Linked DNA regions of Homo sapiens: regions 1 and 2 are each linked to region 3. The links are contacts of gene promoters, found by promoter capture Hi-C in human tissues and cell types (Jung and others, 2019). All regions are on one chromosome and are shown on one strand. Each heading gives the region's core, a stretch centred on a gene start or on the middle of the fragment in contact. The rest is flanking DNA. Distances are from core to core; before and after follow the strand shown.

The links. The method cuts DNA at HindIII sites, captures the fragments that hold promoters and counts their contacts. A contact is called where the count stands out against the background at its distance.
Region 1: a fragment that was not itself captured here is called in contact with the fragment with the promoter of RSPO3 in region 3 in 1 of the 25 tissues and cell types used here (H1 embryonic stem cells).
Region 2: a contact is called between a fragment that was not itself captured here and the fragment with the promoter of RSPO3 in region 3, in 3 of the 25 tissues and cell types used here (H1 embryonic stem cells, heart left ventricle and mesendoderm cells).

What each region holds. Positions count from the first base shown.
Region 1 is chr6:126,644,534-126,647,233 of GRCh38, reverse strand. No RefSeq gene overlaps it. Among named protein-coding and RNA genes, the nearest start is that of MIR588, 160 kb to the right of the region's middle. The HindIII fragment of the contact is 4,575 bases long and covers 1-2,700 here.
Region 2 is chr6:126,765,995-126,768,694 of GRCh38, reverse strand. No RefSeq gene overlaps it. Among named protein-coding and RNA genes, the nearest start is that of MIR588, 280 kb to the right of the region's middle. The HindIII fragment of the contact is 3,072 bases long and covers 1-2,700 here.
Region 3 is chr6:127,117,338-127,120,037 of GRCh38, reverse strand. It overlaps RSPO3 (R-spondin 3), which reads right to left and starts at 1,367. Exons shown (of 5, transcript NM_032784.5): 1 at 749-1,367. The coding sequence starts at 845. It overlaps LOC105377989 (a long non-coding RNA gene), which reads left to right. Exons shown (of 14, transcript XR_002956387.2): 4 at 1-1,137. The HindIII fragment of the contact is 6,946 bases long and covers 1-2,700 here.

The DNA of each region.
Region 1 (2,700 bases), core at 165-2,664, 470 kb after region 3:
AAAAAAGACAAAAGAACAAATATAAATCAAAAGGAAAAATTAATGTTATAAAGAGGGAAAAACACTTATAAAATGCAATCAAATTTTCAGGCATAAAAATATAGTCATTAAATAATGGACAGTCTATTAGGATATTAGACACAGATAAACTGGAAGACAGATGGAGAAAATTATTTAGAATGTAACACAAAGAGTTATCCATGTGAAAATATGAGAAGTTACAATTTAAAAAGAATATAATAAGAAAGTCAATATATTTCTAATTTGAGAACAAGAAAATGAGGCTTGTGAGTTGCAGGAGGCAATATTCACAAAGCTAATGGCAGAATTTTCAGAATCGAAAAATAATTTCTCAGATTGAGTCCAATTATTCTCAAACATAATAAGTAAAAGTAAACCCAAATTATATGTCATCCTAAATTATACAGCAATAGCAAATTATTCAAAAATATTAGTAGTTTACAACAACGAAGGTATATTTCTTGTTCATGTTACATGCCCATTATATTTCGGCTGTGCCTCAGGCTCATGTCTGCACTCCAGAATCCAAACTATTGGGCAGCTCTTCTCTGGGACATTGCTGGTCTTGTCGCAGAGGTAAATGAGAATAGAGTGAAAACCATGTAATATCTCTTAAAGCTTGTGCTTGAACATGACACATGTTACTTCTGCTCCCATTTCACTAGTTAAAACAAATTGGATGGCCAATATTAATATCATTGGGATAAGGTTGTATAATATTTAACATTAATATAATCTGCCATATTCTCACTTATATTGTATTAATCAACATCCAGGTGGGAAACAGAAATACCCTAGGTGTTTCAATTAGAAGAGTATAATATAGAGAATTATTTACAATGTGTTAGAAGAGCTAAAGGAGCAAAAGATAACACTTAGGTCTTACCTAAGTGTTGCTGTTGTTGTTGTGCTGTTGGAACCATTAGTACAACCATATTGTAAGAAGCCAACAGCTCCTACTCCTGAGGACACTAAAAAATCTGGGAGCCCACATTCCCATTGTTGTTGCCGCCACATCCACGCTACAAGTGTTGCCTGCTACTGGTACTGCTAGAGACTGACTGCTGAGGTTGCTGGGCAGCAGCAGTTTCCATTATTGAAACCAAAAAACCTGAGCTGCTGAGGTGGGTGGAGTGCTGCTGCTGCCACTGTCAGGATAAGAAACAGAAGAAAGAAAATCAAAGACAAGGAAGATATAATAAAAGCAATCAGAAAAAAGACACACAAAAGAACAATTAGATGAGAGCAGATTTCTTAGAACTACAACAGAAGTCAGAAGACGATGCAGTAACATCTTCAAAGAGCTGAGGGAATATATATCTTAAGTTAGAATTCTACATAATCTTATTCAAATGTGAAGCTTAAATAAATATATTAACAAGCAAAGATCAAAATAGATCAAGTTTTGCAGACCTAACTGAAGGAACATTTATTAAATTTCAGTAAGAAGACAGTAAAATAAGAAAGAAGATTACAAAAATAAACTTGTAAAAATATTGGGAAATCTAAACATGTTTTGATTATAAATATAACAGTAACAGTCACTAATTTGAACAGTATAAATAAATTGAATCTAAAATATCAGGCTTTATATTTGGGAGATAGGAAAGAATGATGAGGGTGACTGAGACAAAAGCATTCTTTTATATTATTTATTTAGAAGGGTAGAGATATATCAAGTAGTTTTAGCCCATTGTAAAGACAATTGTTTTCTAAAAATTGAAGAATAACAACTGAAGGATCAAAAATGAATGTACGATTTCAAAATCAAAAGAAGAAAGGTGGGTGGGATAACCATCTACTAGAAATTAAGAGAGAAAAATATATATATATTTTGTATTTGACTCCATTTATAACCCAAGTACAGTGACTTAAAATAGATTATTTTCCTCATATAATAGGAAGACAAGAGAAAGCTGTTAAGTTCTGTCCCATGGCTATCAATGTCTCTGCTATTCTTTTGGTTACAAGATAGCTGTTACAGCTATAGCCAGAACGTCTGCATTCCAGTAGGAAGAAAGAGAAAGGAAAAGCTATGACATTGTACCAGAAGAGCAAAAAGTTTCCACAGCAGCCTTCCTTTTATATATTCTTGGCCAAATATCTTTAGAAATATTTCCAGAAAATAGTCATCTTATTTTAAGTGTTTGTCCTTGTTTTACGTTTGATTTTTTAAAAATTCAATGATGGAAGAAACTGGAAGAAAAAAATTTAGAGCAATATCACTAATAAACAGAACTACCACCATGACAATAAAAATAAAACAAACTTTATCAGTAATCACAATAAATATAAATGGATTAAAGTCAGCAATTAAAGGAGATCCTCAGATTAATATAAAAATTTAAAACTATCCGGCTAAATGTCTTTTAACATAACTAACATAGTAAAAGAAAGGCTAAAAGTAAAATGATCAAAACAAGGCAAACGCTAACTGATATAACTCCATTAATATCAAATACAAAAGGTTTTAAGGTAAAAATAATCATGAGATAAAAAGAATTTTTGCATATTTACGAAAGCAAACAATAGAATTAATGATAGAGTTCCCATAAACTTTCAAAATTGTCACAAAATAAAATTTAATTTGCCAAAATCATGAGAAGAAGAAATTCAAAAATTTACTATGACAGTGGAAAATTTTAACACACTTCTCTTAGGAAGTTGTACATAAATCGG
Region 2 (2,700 bases), core at 10-2,509, 350 kb after region 3:
AATGGGAGTAACTATTGTAGAGTTATCATAAAACAAAAGTTCTTAATGTTCCCAAATGGGGCATTCTATTATAGTAAGCTTTAGTATTTGAACTCTCACTACAGAATGTTTTATAAGAAAAATATGTAAATGTGGTAAATTCTGAGTTATTTTCAGAGATGACAAAAGCTTTAAAAAAATGTGTTTTTCCCCCCTGTAAATTCTTCTATTTGTAATTTAAACTCATTTTAGATAAAATATTCGGGGCCAAAAAACCTAGCACTTTTGCTTTGTTAAGCTCATATCTAAGGGATGAGGAGTTGTAAGTAAACCCAATTTTGACGATTATAATATTTAAAATAAGTTTTTGCTATAAAACTCTAATATTATCTGTGGTCATATTTGCTTGTAATTTTAAAGACAGAATCCTCCTGCTTCATGGGTCATTTAGCACCTTCTGCTGTATATTTTGAACTCTAAATATACTGTTCCTTGGAGAGAAGAATTGCATATTGCCAAGGGCAAGTGATGTCTACACCAAAAGGTTTAAGTCAGGGGCAAAAGCCCCAAAATATTTTTCTTTTCAAAGAACAGGTGAAATATACACATTTTTGCCCATCCCTGATTTCTGAATTTGAAATTCAATTTATTCTTCTGAGAGGTTATTGTTTATGCACACTTGGAAAACTCAACTTTCTGTGGAGAGAAAAAGATAAAGACTTGTGATTACAAAACAGTTTGACAACTTGAGTGCAAATGAATCAGAAACATGTGGATTAAATTTCCCTTGAAACACACATGACTTTTTAAAATTAAGAGGAAAAGGGCTTGGCAATAAACACTTTAGTTTTTGCCAGACCTAAAGCATTTGGAAAATAATCCAGATTGTGGTTGGGCTGTCTCCTCCGTAGTCAATTCTCAATTTCTGTACATTGATATTTGAAGTTTCAAGTCACTAATTCAATGTATAGGTTATAAATACTTGAACACATCTATTTTTACTATTTTCACTTCCACATCCTTTTTGAATCAATGGAAATGAAAACAATTGTGTACAAATTGAATCAGGAGAGTGGAGAAGGACTCCTTGGTAGGGAACTGGCATACATTCCCTCCATAAATGACAGCAAGCTTATTTTAATAAATACCAGCATATGAATATGTTATACATCAGGAGAAGCAAATGCATTCAGGAAAGATGCTGCTATATATTTTAGGATAGTCAAGAAAGTAACGGTCCTATAGGTCACTAGAAAACCTGGAAGAAGATGTAATTTCAATCTATCATATATTTTTATACTATGATCAATTTTACTCAATGAAAAAAATACCCTTAGGGATTCAAATTCTCCTCTATATTTACAGAAGAAAAATGATACTAATATTGGGCATTTATCTCTATCATTGTGGAGTATTTTTCCCATCATGCTATAATTCAGACCATATAAAATGTTCTGTTTACAGACAGTTAAATTGCAATATTATATTTTTACATGTCCTACTTGCAGAAGTTTTTGGATTTTCATAGAATAAATATTCAAAAATCTGTTGACTATATAGATATGCAGAAGGAAGGAGGGGAGGAAGGGAAGGAGGAAGGAAGGAAGGGAGGGAGGGAGGGAGGAAGGAAGGAGCAAAGGAAAGGCGAGACGAAGGGAAGGGAGGGAGGGAGAGAGAAGAAGTGAAGAAAAGAAAGAAGAAAGAAAGGCAATTCTTAGATTTTCTTCAAAAGTAGTTTTTAGAGAGTAGGAACAAAAAAAGTATGAAATATCTTTGGGGTATTTAGGAACCAAACTATAATATTAGCAAACTCACAGTACGGCAAAAATAAAACCATTACTCTCTCTGAGTGCTAACTCTGTTCCAGACACTATGGTAAGTGCTTCATATGCATTATCTGTTTTAATGTCCACATGGACTCACAGGAAAAAGAGAATTAATTAACTCACCTAAGGCCTTGTGACCAAATTTGGAGTTCAGTCCTTCTCATTCCAGAGCCGAAGCATTTCATCACTTTGCCTCCTCCCCTAACATGTTCAGCAGTGAGTCCCCTTCAATCCAAGACTAATTTGTTCATTCAAACCCATCATTATCAATTAGGAAACCCCTATCTAAACCACTTAGTGAGGTCAGCAATGTGTCCTTCCTGTGAGTCCAGTAGGATCCCTGAAGTGAATCTTACACACACAGGTCAACTCTCTCTCACAATTTAAATAGGGGCACACTTTCAAATTTGTCAAACTCTTTTTAAATTATTCAAGATATGTTCTAATTTCATAAACGGGCAGCTGTCTTTTAGGATATGCAAACTAATTAAATATGTAGTCTTATATTATGTTAGCATGTAACAGAATCTCTTAACAGAGAGCTTATATTTTTAAAGCCAGGTACATTTAAAAAATCAATTTGCTTAGAAACCTCAAAAAAGTTTATTATTTTCTTATACTAAAGGGTGATATATGTTATTAACCCCCAATCAGAAGATAACAGGAAATATAAATATAATTTTATTTAACTAATTTGATCAGGTCAATAAGCTTCAAATGTATCTACAAATCAGTAACACCTACCTTCTTCATAGTTAGATTGGTTTATATTAATAATTAATTATTAAGGTCAAATTTTTGATTCAACTATTTGCTAGTCTAACTTCCAAAACTGTTCTAATTTCTATGTGACTGTATTTTCACTAAAATTATTATTATTTGAGATAATATATGT
Region 3 (2,700 bases), core at 118-2,617:
CACACTTGAAAGGGCCAGAGATGGTACAGACGCTCACATGTGACAAGAGAGAACCTGGAAACTCCGCACCTCCGGCTCCCCACAGCTGGGGTTTTGCTGTCTTCAACCCTCGGGCGGGGGACGTCCGGCAGCTCTGCAAACGCGCAGACACGCGAACCCCATCGCCTCGCGCGCCCTTTGGCTCCGCTGGTGCGTGTCGGGGATGCGGCCGCGCAGGCGCTCGCTCCCTGGCTTCCTGGCCGGGTAGCGGGCGTTCGGCTACCGGAGTCCAGCCTAAGGGCCCAGCCGAGGTCTCCCCGCGCGAGGCGGTTGCGCTAGGTGAGCGGGTACCGCGGCCGCGCCTCCCTTGTCATTTACTCAGCGGTCAGAGGCATCCTGCGTCTGGGAGTCCCAAGTGCCTTCGGCTGGGTGCCCCTGTCCGATCCTCAAAAGGAAAGCACAAATCCCGGGTGCGAGTCTAACCCAGGACCGAACTTTCCCGCGAACCTGAAGTTACCATGGGGCGGGAGCCACCTTAGCGCCGCGTCCGCCCGCCCCTCGCACCGGCTAGGATGCTGCGGAAGGCAGGGGCGCCGAGAGGCAAGGGTGAAAGACGCCGTCCATACCCCCAAAGCCCGAACCTGCATCTCCTCTGCGAGGCGCAGGGCGGGAGGACCGCTGCAGTTGGGAGCCGGCTCCGGACAGGCAAAGCGACCCGACAGGTGAACGCGGCGGGAGGGAGCAAACGCGTAAAAAACCCTGCACTTACTTCTTCGCTGGCGCCTTCCCCGGGAGGCGTTTTGGCTGCCGATGTATTCCATAAAGTTCAAAATGATAAAAAGCCAAGAAATCAGTCGCAAGTGCATAGTAACCCAGTAATGCTTCCCTTCCTTTCTCCTCTTTCTTTTGATTGTTAATTATATTTAATGTTTTTAAAATATATGTAGGTGTTAGGCGTATATAGACAGTGCCCGAGCAGCGGGACTTCTCCTCTCACATCCGATAGGCGTGCTGTGATGGCAAGCGAAGTGGGGCGGGTGGACAGGGAAACCAACTATTGTACTTTCAAATTATCCAAGCACTGAACTGCGGCGGCTTCGCTGGGGTGGCTGGCATCGCCGCGAACCGGGGTTCCAGGAGCCGCCGGGGCGGCCGCAGGTAGCATGTTGTGCGGCAACTGCCGCAGGCGGGATCCGGGCGGGCGAGCGGCGGCGGCGGCGGCTGCAGCGGCGGCCCCTTGGGCTCAGAAGCTGCGGCGGCTGCGGCTGCAGCGGCGGGGGCCCCTGGAGCGCAGGGGAGCGGGCGCCGTCGGCACAGCGGCCATGGCCAAGGGGCGGCGGAGAGACCCCGAGCTGCTTCTGGCGTGCGCGAGCAGGAGACGCTCCAGTGTTGGGCTGGGCTCCCGGGAGCACCACATAGGGGAGGAGGAGGAGGAGGGCAGGGAGGGGGGAGGGAGAGGAGGGCAGGGAGGGGGAGAGGAGGGGGGATGGCTGTGGGGGGCGGGGGGGAGCTCGGGGGCGGGGAAGGAAACTGCTGGAGCAACAACCCTGAGCGACCTCAATAACTTTCAATTTCAAGAGGGAAAGAGGGAGCTGGAAAAGTACAGGCGTTGCGCTTTGGCAGAGGGACGGGAAGAGGCGCCTAAGGGGTCCCGGGTCTACAGCGCAGCATCTCTGGACACTGCAGTGACGGCCGGAGAATTCCAGCCAGAAGAATGGGGAAAGCAGTGCGTGCGAAGAGCCCCTCCAGAAGGGCAGCTCTGGCGGGGAGACTTGGGCGCACTGGGGCTGGCAGGCAGTGTTGAGGCCGAAGACCCCCCACCCATCCCAGTTCGGCTCCTCTCCGCGGCCTCAAGCTAGGCGCACCCGGCTGTCGGTGGCCGTGCGCCCCTGCGCCCTTGTGCCCCAGCGCCCCCACCCCATCCCCAGCGCCGGCGCGCAACTACCCTCTCCCCCTTGGCAGATCGCTGGAGAGTTTCTGGCTGCTGACTTGTTCCCGGCTTTCCTGACCTTCTCCTCTGTTGCCTTTCTCCCTTTTTCTTTTTCTCTCTCTTTCTTTCTTTCTTTCTTTCTTTCTTTCTTTCTTTCTTTCTTTCTTTCTTTCTTTCTTTCTTTCTTTCTTTCTCTTTCTTTCTTTTCTTTCTTTCTTCCTTCCTCTTTCTTTGTCTTTCTTTCTTTCTTTCCTTCCTTCCTTCCTTCCTTCCTTCCTTCCTTCCTTCCTTCTTCTTTCTTTCTTTCTTTCCTTTCTTTCTTTCTTTTCGGCTGCAGTTGGTCGCCAGGCGGGTGGTGGGGAGGAAACTCTGTGGGTGCTGCCGGTCAGCTACTCTGAGGTTTACCTGCTCCGAGCGGGGAGGACCCAGAAGTGTGTGCGCTCAGGACCTTCCCGTTGGAAATGCAGCTGTGCTACGGCTTTCTTCCAAACCAAGGCTTTTCTGTGGCTTTGGAAGATTCCTTTCCCGCTCAGGCAATTCCCTCTATAGTCAGCTCGCCCCCCTTGGAGTTTTCTCTCCCACCCTCGGTCTCCCAGTGTTCTTGAGAGGATCTGTTGTACATTCTAATCTCGCATCTGGAAGACTGGGAATAAGATTTGGAAAGATTTTCCCAGTCTTGGGGAAGGAAGGGGAAGGTCCACTACTTTCTTATCTTCCCAGCCCAAGTGGAGGCCCAAGGCAGCAGAGAGTAAGATGCTCTGGCCCACCCAGGGATGGGAGAACAGAGGGCC